Regions from separate parts of the Homo sapiens genome. Here regions 2 and 3 are each linked to region 1. The links are contacts of gene promoters, found by promoter capture Hi-C in blood cells and fetal thymus (Javierre and others, 2016). All regions are on one chromosome and are shown on one strand. Each heading gives the region's core, a stretch centred on a gene start or on the middle of the fragment in contact. The rest is flanking DNA. Distances are from core to core; before and after follow the strand shown. Region 1 holds the start of GTF2B (general transcription factor IIB). Region 2 overlaps PKN2 (protein kinase N2). Region 3 overlaps PKN2-AS1 (PKN2 antisense RNA 1).

Region 1 (3,120 bases), core at 190-2,689:
ATTTCAGACTTAAAAAGCCATGATAGAATTAAAAAAAAAAAAAGCCATGGTAGAATTTTAAGTCGTATTTGAGTGATCTGGGGAGCCCAAGTTTTCCATTTACCTACAAGGAGGCCTTACCCGACAGAACAACACCCAGATAGAATGACTGAGCATCCAATCCAAGAATCAGAATCAGTAAACAAGAGTGTCACTGGCTTTATGAGTTCTGTTCAAACAGTATATTAGCTAAAGCTGCCTCCCACCCCAAATTCCTTTTCTAATCATAAAATGTAAGTCTTGGCAGTTACCAGAAAAGGCTATTTTGTAAAAATGGCTTTCACTGTGAAATTAACCAATTCCACAGATGATAGCAGGGTCAGAAAAATAGTGCCAGAGTTCCAGAAGCTGTAGAATTAATTTGATACTTTCAACACAGGATTAGTTAACCAAAGGCCAGGTGTGGATAACAGGAAACAGGTTGTCTTAGACTCTACACTCTAACACGACTCTTGGAAAAGTCAACATTGGCATGACTCAGTTTACACTTATGCAAAAATACTAATATCTACCTCACAGTGGTAATGAGAGACATAATTAGGGTCTGCAAGCATTTTTCAGGTCACAAGATTAAAGGCTGTTTCTGAGGGTACTGCATGCATTTCCTGTAGATATGAGTACACTGCATTCTTAAATATATACTAAAAAGCGACCTCCCAGCACATATAACTAATTTTCTTTGGCAAGATTTTCTTCAGAAGTACACAGGCAACGATATTTGTAAACAAATCCTTTAGCAGGGAACTAATCAACTCTTCCGATGGCTCTAGCTTCCACTTCCGAGGCCCGCTGTGATGGTAACCAACCAGGTTCCATCTGGCTTACCAATGCTGACGTTCCCAACTTCCTAGCTGTCAGATCGATAGGAACCTGAAACTAACTGTTTCCCGTTCCTTTGAAAAGGAGAAATTACGGACCCTCGGGTTGTTTGGGCCGTAGATGAAAAAAACAAGCGGGGGGGGGGGCGCGGGGGAGGAGAGGAGGGAGGGTGGGAAGAAGAGAAAATAAAGGGAGATTGAAATATTGGGAAAAGATACGAGGGCAAGGACTGGGGACACAGTAGCCCACCAGGACCCACATAGGGTGATATCTACATAAGACTCCAGGGCAATAACGTCAACAGCTCGGTAACCCCTGCGACACCCTGACAGTCCTGCCGTCTGGAAGTGCCTTTGTCCCGGCCCGTCGGCCAGTCCCGCCGCTTCTCTCCCATACCCCTAGGCGCTCAGCCCTACGAGGCTGCCCGGAGGCCGCCTAAAAGCCGGCGGCGCTCGCGCCCGCCCCTCAGCTCGCCGGGCTCGGCGGGACATACTAACCGGCTGGTAGACGCCATCTTCACGGCGACTGCGGTGCCCGCAACAAGACACAACAGACACACCGAAAGCAGGAAGCGAATGTGGCGAAGAGACGCGCAGAGATGAGTTTTTATAGACGACTCACCCACGCAGTCGTAGCAGAGCAGGGCTACGGGTCGGGAGAAGGGCCAAGAACAGTGAGATCCCATACGTCACGTGCTTTGCGATTTCTTACGTTCTTACTCCGTTTCTGTAATTTGCTATGTTGCTAAGCGAGTCAACGTAACTACCTAGGAAAAGTCTCATGGGAACCCTGCAAAGGGGCTACAACAGAGCTACTCTCAATCTGACAGTTAAAACACAAAGAAAACCCTGGCTTCGTAGTGGTGCCAAAGCCTGCATCCCTAATAGTTTAACCACCCCTTCCTCTCCCACCTTCTCACGGCTACCTTCTCACGGCCACCACCTACCCCGCCCCCAGCCCCCCACCCCGCGTCAGGCACTCCCATTTGAGCCAGTTCTTACGTGCCCCAAGGGTGATTCTTTCTAAGAAATTTGAAATAAAAGGAGAAACTCACTTAGGTCATCCAGAACAGGTGTCTGTTCAGGATCTGTCATCAGCTAGCATGTTGTCTTCTTAGGCACGTCCTTTATACAGGTCATGTAAGTTTATATAGGTTATGGTATCTTGCCTTGCATACCCTTTTAGAATTGGCAGAAGATGAAACAAAACTACGTGAAACCAATGTGTACACAAGAGGCACGACGATATGGGCCATGCTCTGATCATTTTTTTTTCACGGCCTTTGTAACGTTGGCTGATAGCTACATATAGAAAACTTGCGAGAACATCTAGATATTGCAAAATATCCCTAGATTTATTAATTAGCCAAACTAACGTCAAAATTGTAATACCACTATTACTAACAACAATAACAGTTACCGGTGGAGAGTATTCACGTTCTTGGCGTTTTGAACAAAGAACTGGACACAACGCACAAACTAAGGAAAGAATGAAGGAATAAAGGCAGAGATTTATTGAAAACGAAAAGGTAATACCAGCTCAAGACTCCTTTTGCAGAATTTTCGGGGGTTTAAATACCCTCTAGAGGTTTCCCATTGGTTACATGGTGTACACCCTATGTAAATGAAGTAGTGGCTCCACAATCAGTCTGATTGGTTGTGGAAAGCAACCAATCAGAGGCTAAAGTGAAGTTACAAAGTTACACTCCTATGCAAGCGTCTGATTGGTTGCAGAAAGCAACGAATCAGAGATACTTTCAATTTCACATCTGCCACACGGCTAAAGTGTGTGTGTGTGTGTGTGTGTGTGTGTGTGTGGTTGTGTAGTGGGGAGGGGGTTGCAAAGGGAGTAACGTCTGGTTCTTTTGTTACTTAGGTGTGGAAAGTTGGGGTTTTCCTTTTTTTTTTTTTTTTTTGAGACGGAGTCTTGCTCTGTCGCCCAGGCTGGAGTGCAGTGGCGCGATCTGGGCTCACTGCAAGCTCCGCCTGCCAGGTTCACGCCATTCTCCTGCCTCAGCCTCCCGAGTAGCTGGGACTACAGGAGCCTGCCACCACGCCCGGCTAATTTTGTTTTTGTATTTTTAGTAGAGACGGGGTTTCACCCTGTTAGCCAGGATGGTCTTGATCTCCTGACCTCGTCATCCGCCCGCCTTGGCCTCCCAAAGTGCTGGGATTACAGGCGTGAGCCACCGCGCCCGGCCGGGGTTTTCCATTTGATTTAGTTCTAGGAAATCAGTGTGAATCTGCCTTAGGTTCCCTGCCT
Region 2 (2,876 bases), core at 244-2,743, 160 kb before region 1:
ATAAAGTTAATATTACTTTTGGTTCTTTTGGTTTCTTTTAAATAATGTCTTTTCCTTATTAGGCAAGGTTAAAAAAAGAAGTGGAGAAAATTTTATTGTCAAAAAAATAGAGAAAACATGGAAAACTTTGAAAAATAAAATGGAAATCCCTCTTAATTTATCTTTCCCTCTATTTTTAAAGTTCTTATTTTTAACATAACTTGAAATAAAAGTGTGTTTACACAGCAGTATATCAGCTGCATATACTGCTGTTAACTAATCAAGGGCACAAATAAGGGAAACCTTTCTTTATTCGCTAGCTGACTTGAAATTCTTTTGTTATGACACTTAGGTAGCATCTTGAACTTTCTCTTTTCTAAAGTTGGTTTAAAGCCCTGATATTTGTAAGCTTTATAAGGGAGTCTGTCTGTGCCCAATACAGTGCATTGAACATATTATTAATTTTAAAATTATTGAATTGACCATTCTATATAACAAAAATTTCTAATTATTATCTTAGGTTAGATTTCTTGAGTTTTATAATTCTATGTCAAAGAGAAACACTATTTTTAAATTTCTTGTTTTATATTCCCAACTTTTTAAATGAAGTCTTGTAAGTGGATAAATAAAATATAGTATATATACACAATGGAATATTATTCAGTCATAAATAATGAAATCTTGTCATTTCAGACAACGTGAATGTACCTAGAGGACACTAAGCCAGGCACAGAAAGACAAATACCACATGATCTCATTCATAGGTGGAATCTAAAAGGTTGTTCTCATAGAGGTAGAGAGTAGAATGGTAGTTATGAGAGGACGAGAGGGGAGCAGGGAAAAACGGGTAGGGAAGGATGGGTTAATGGGTACAAAAAAGTTGGGAATATGTAACAAGAAACATAAAAATAGTTATTCTCTTTGATAGACATTTAGGTTGATTCCATATCTTGGCTATTGTGAATAATGCTGTAATAAACATAGGAGTGCAGATATCTGTAAAACATACTGATTTCATTTTCTTTGGATATATATACCCAGTAGTGGGATTTATCGGATCATGTGGTAGTTCTGTTTAAAATTTTTTGAGTAGCCTTCATGCTGTTTTCCATAATGGCTATACATTCCCACCAGCAGTGTATAAGGGTTCCCTTTTATCCATACCCTCATCAACACCTGCTATCTTTTGATTTTTTGAGAGTACCTATTCTAACTAGAGTGATGTGATATCTCATTATAGTTTTGACTTGCATTTTTTGATGATTAGTGATGTTGAACATTTTTTCATACACCTGTGGGTTGTTTGTATGTTCTTTTTTTGGAGAAATGTCTATGTAGGCCTTTTGCCCATTTTTTGATCAGGTTATTTGTTTGTTATTGAGTGTTTGAGTTCTTTATATTTGGGTATTAACCCTTTATCAGTTGTGTAGTTTGTAAATGTGTTCTCCCAGTCTATGACTGGCATCCTTGCTCTGTTGATTGTTACCTTTACTATGCAGAAGATTTTTAGTTTGATACAATTCCATTTGTCTATACAGGTTAAATATCCTGTATCTGAAATGCTTACAACCAGAGTGTTTTGGATTTGGGATTTTTTCAGGTTCTGGAATATTTGCATTATACTTAGTGGTTGAGCATTCCAAATCAAATTTTGAAAATTCAAAACGTTCCAATAAGCATTTAGTTCGAGTATCATGTTGGCAATCAAAAGGTTTCATAGTGGCTCACGCCTATAATCCCAACAATTTGGGGGGGTCAAGGCAGGAGGATCACTTGATGCCATCAGTTCAAGACCAGCCTGGGCAATGTAGCAAGACCCTGTCTTTACAAAAGATAAAAATTAGCTAGGCATAGTGGAGCCCACCTGTAGTCTTAGCTACTTGGGAGGCTAAGGTGGGAGGATCACTTGAGCTCAATGTTTCAAGGTTGCTAATGAGCAATGATTGTACCACTGCACTCCAGCCTGGGTAACAGAGTGAGACCCTATCTTTAAAAAAAAAAAAAAAAAATTTGGAGCGTTTTAGAGTTTTGGATTTAGAATGCTCAAACTGTTTTTGCTTTTGTTGCCCATGCTTTTCAGGTTTTGTCCAAAATATTCTTGCCTAGACCAGTGACATGGAGCTTTCCCCTATATTTCCTCCATATTTTCTTCTTGTGATTTTGTAGTTTGGGGTCTTACATTTAAGTCTTTAATCCATTTTGAGTTGAGTTTTGTCTGTGGTGAGAGATAAGAATCTAATTTCATTCTCTCATGTGGATATCCAGTTTTCCCAACACCACTTGTTGCCCTTTTCCCATTGAGTGTACTTGGCCCCTTTGTCAAGAATTAATAAACTGTAGATAGATGATTTATTTCTGGACTGTCTTCTGTTCCATTGATTTGTGTGTCTTTTTTATACCAGTAGCATGCTATTTTGATTACTATAGCTATGTAATGTGTTTTGAAGTCAAGTAGTATGATGCCTCCAGCTTTGTTCTTTTTGCTTTAGATTACTTTGGCTATTTATGTTCTCTTGTTGTCTTTCTTTATGGTTAGGTGATTTTCTCTAGTAATGTGTTTTGATGGTTTCCCTGTTATTTTTGGTGTATTTCTTATAGGTTTTTGCTTTGCAGTTACCATGAAGCTTATGAAAAAAATCTTAAAATGAGATATTTGAAACTGATAGCAACCCAACTTTGATTGTAAAGATAGGAAAAGAAAGAAAAAGCAAACTCTACTTTTAACTCCATTTTCTCCCACATTTGTAATTTTTGATGTCCCATTTTACATCTTATATTACCCATCTCTTGGCAAATTAAAATAGTTATTATTTAATAGTTTTGTCTTTTAGCCTTCATATTAAAGATACAAGTGCTTTATGTATCACATTTATAGTATTATAGTATTCCATCTTCCA
Region 3 (3,080 bases), core at 40-2,539, 240 kb before region 1:
AAGCTCCCAGTCAAGAGACAGCATCAAAAAGAAGAAAAAAAAAACTGCACAACAACTTATTTGCTGATGGAGAAACCTCTGCTCCTCATATGCACATGCATCCCCTAGGCTGATGACAACTATTTGCAGCTTATGCTTGTCCCTGTCATTGGGCCTGGAGCTTAGTTTCAGAGTTAGAGGAACCAGGGCCTCCACTGTTTTTAGTGTATAGGTGCCCAAGGGCTAGATATGGCCTACAGGCCTATTCTATGTGGCCTATATAAGATTCTTACTTTGAGACAATACTTAAATTTCAGGTTTGGAATTCAGAGGTTACCCATAAAACTCAAGATATCCGGCTGCTCTTGAAAAATCAGAATGTATGTCAACATTTGGTCTGTTTTTCTGCTGACTATATTCGGCTGGAGTTAAGTTAGAACTGCTCCCATGTAGACACAGTCCGTACCCCTCATACAAAAAATACTTGGTATACCTCACTCCTTATGTTCTCTGTATGGCTCCCATAGTATTTGAACTCGTAACCTCTCAAATGTGTAGTTCTCTAGGGAAGTTCAGCAAACGTGCTTGCCTGGCAAGAGATAGTAGACCAAAAAACTATAGCTGCATCCAACATATTAAGAGGAATAAAAAAATGAAGGCAGTCTCCAATAACAAATAGGGGGCTCTTTCAGAAGAAAGATGCTTTGGTCATTAGCAAATGACACTTTGGGCATGTAATTTATATTTTCTGAAACTCAACTGCCTGATTTGTAAATTGAAACTAATAGGGATCTAGCAATCCCGCTACTGGTTATGTACCCAAAGGAAAGGAAATCAGTATATTGAAGGGATAGCTGCACTTCCATGTTCATTGCAGTATTATTTATAATAGTTAAGATAGGGAATAAGCCTAAGAAACATCTGTATTCCCATGTTCACTGAAGCATTATTTATAATAACTAAGAGAATCAGTCTAAGTGTCCATCAACAGATGAATATACCAAAAAACTGTGGTACATATACACAATGTAATCCTATTCACCCTTTTAAAAGAAGGAAATCCTGTCATTTGCCACAACATGGATAAATAAACCTGGAGGACATTAAGTGAAATAAGCCAGGCAATCAGAGACAAATAGCATAAGATCTCATATGTAGAATGTAAAAAAGTTGAACTCATAGAAGTAGACAGTATAATGGTGGTTACCAAAGGCTGGGGGTGGGGAGTAGGGGGGAAGATGTTGGTCAAAGGATATAAAATTTCAGTTAGACAGCAGGAATAAGTTCAAAAGATCTATTGTACAATATGATGACTATAGTTAATAACAAGGTATTGTATTCTTGAAAATTGCTTAGAGGGTAGCTTTTAAGTGTTCCTACCACACACGCACAAAAAATGTGTGATGTAATGCATATGTTAATTAGCTTGATTTAGTCATTTCACAAAATATACATATTTCAAAATGATGTTGTACATAATAAATACATAGTTTTTATTTGTCAATTAAAACGTTTTTAAAAGAAACTAACAGGATTCCACCCCCGCCCCCAAAAATTGCTGATGCCATTAAATGAGATCATGCTACATGAAATCCGTAGTACAGTGCCTGGCATTTATGATTGCTAAGTAAATAAAAATAATTGTTATAATTGTAGGCATTCTTTTCAGAGACAATCACAAACTTCAGGTGCAAATGCAAGCTGGTTTTAATTTTTTGTTGTTTGTTTGTTTTTGTTTGTTTGTTTGTTTTTGAGACTAAGTCTCACTCTGTCTCCCAGGCTGGAGGCAGTGGCGCAATCTCGGCTCACTGCAGCCTCTGCTTCCCAGGCTCAAGCAATTCTCTGCCTCAGCCTCCTGAGTAGCTAGGATTACAGGTGCCCACCACCATACCCGGCTAATTTTTGTATTTTTAGTAGAGACAGGGTTTCACCATCTTGTCCAGGCTGGTCTTGAACTCCTGACCTCATGATCTGCCCACATTGACCTCTCAAAGTGCTGGGATTACAGGCGTGAGCCACTGGCTGCAAGCTGGTTTTTCTGTGTACTTCACTTATGCGTGTCTATTGAACACCTACTATAGCTCCATGCAAGGCATTGGAAACACGTATAGAACAGACGTACTTCATGTCCTTGACATGAAGAATTGAAAAGGTTAGAGAAAAGTGTATTAATAGGAGAAAAGAGTTTCTGAAGTGGACAGTACCATCTAAGAAGAAAAATTGGAAGTAAAAGGCTGGGAAGAGGCAAAGAAAATTCAAGACCAGAGTCAAGAAAAGAGTATAAGCCGGGCCCACTGGCTCATGCCTGTAATCTCAACACTTTGAGAGGCAGAGACGGGTGGATCACCTGAGGTCAGGCGTTCAAGAACCAGCCTGGCCAACATGGTGAAACTCCATCTCTACAAAAACACAAAAATTAGCCACGCATGATGGTGGGTGCCTGTAATCCCAGATACTCAGGAGACTGAGGCAAGAGAATCACTTGAACCCGGGAGGCGGAGCTTGTAGTGAGCCGAGATCACACCATTGCACTCCAGCCTGGGTGACAGAGCAAGACTCCATCTTGGAAAAAAAAAAAAGAAAAAGAAAGAAAAAAGTGTATATAAAGATACCACAAAAGGATGAAAGGCAAAGAATAAGTCTCTTCCTATGTTGAATTTGGATACAATATTTCATCCTCCACAGAATAATGAGCATCCACAGATAATGACTCTGTAACAAGTAACCCTTACACAGTACTTACTACACACCAAGCAGTATTCCAGCTATTAATACTTTATACATATTAGTTCATATACTTTGCAGAACAACTTTTAAGATAGCTTCTTTTATTTCGCTTTTACAAATGTATAAAAACTGGCTCACGGAAGTCAATAATTTGCCCAAAGTTATTCAACTAACAAATTGGTAGAGATAAGCTTTAAAACTGGGAATTCTGGCTCCACGGTCAATGTTTTTAAGCTTTCTGATATGTTTAAGGTAATCTGCAATTAGATCCTGGAAAAAAAGGTATTTTCATGGCTGACACCCTTCCAAAAAATGTAGTCTAACATGCTCAACCCAGCATGCTGTTTTCCTAGAATATGTATACAAGTAGACTA

The links. The method cuts DNA at HindIII sites, captures the fragments that hold promoters and counts their contacts. A CHiCAGO score of 5 or more calls a contact.
Region 2: a fragment that was not itself captured here is called in contact with the fragment with the promoter of GTF2B in region 1 in 1 of 17 cell types (neutrophils); the score reaches 5.4 in neutrophils.
Region 3: a contact is called between a fragment that was not itself captured here and the fragment with the promoter of GTF2B in region 1, in 1 of 17 cell types (neutrophils). The highest score is 5.6, in neutrophils.

The regions. Positions count from the first base shown.
Region 1 is chr1:88,890,128-88,893,247 of GRCh38, forward strand. GTF2B (general transcription factor IIB) reads right to left here and starts at 1,440. Exons shown (of 7, transcript NM_001514.6): 1 at 1,356-1,440. The coding sequence starts at 1,372. RefSeq lists an enhancer at 1,616-1,725. The HindIII fragment of the contact is 16,776 bases long and covers 1-3,120 here.
Region 2 is chr1:88,732,190-88,735,065 of GRCh38, forward strand. The region is part of intron 1 of PKN2 (protein kinase N2); the gene reads left to right. Among named protein-coding and RNA genes, the nearest start is that of PKN2-AS1, 48 kb to the left of the region's middle. The HindIII fragment of the contact is 2,215 bases long and covers 387-2,601 here.
Region 3 is chr1:88,651,539-88,654,618 of GRCh38, forward strand. All of the region lies in intron 1 of PKN2-AS1 (PKN2 antisense RNA 1), which reads right to left. Among named protein-coding and RNA genes, the nearest start is that of PKN2, 31 kb to the right of the region's middle. The HindIII fragment of the contact is 3,212 bases long and covers 1-2,895 here.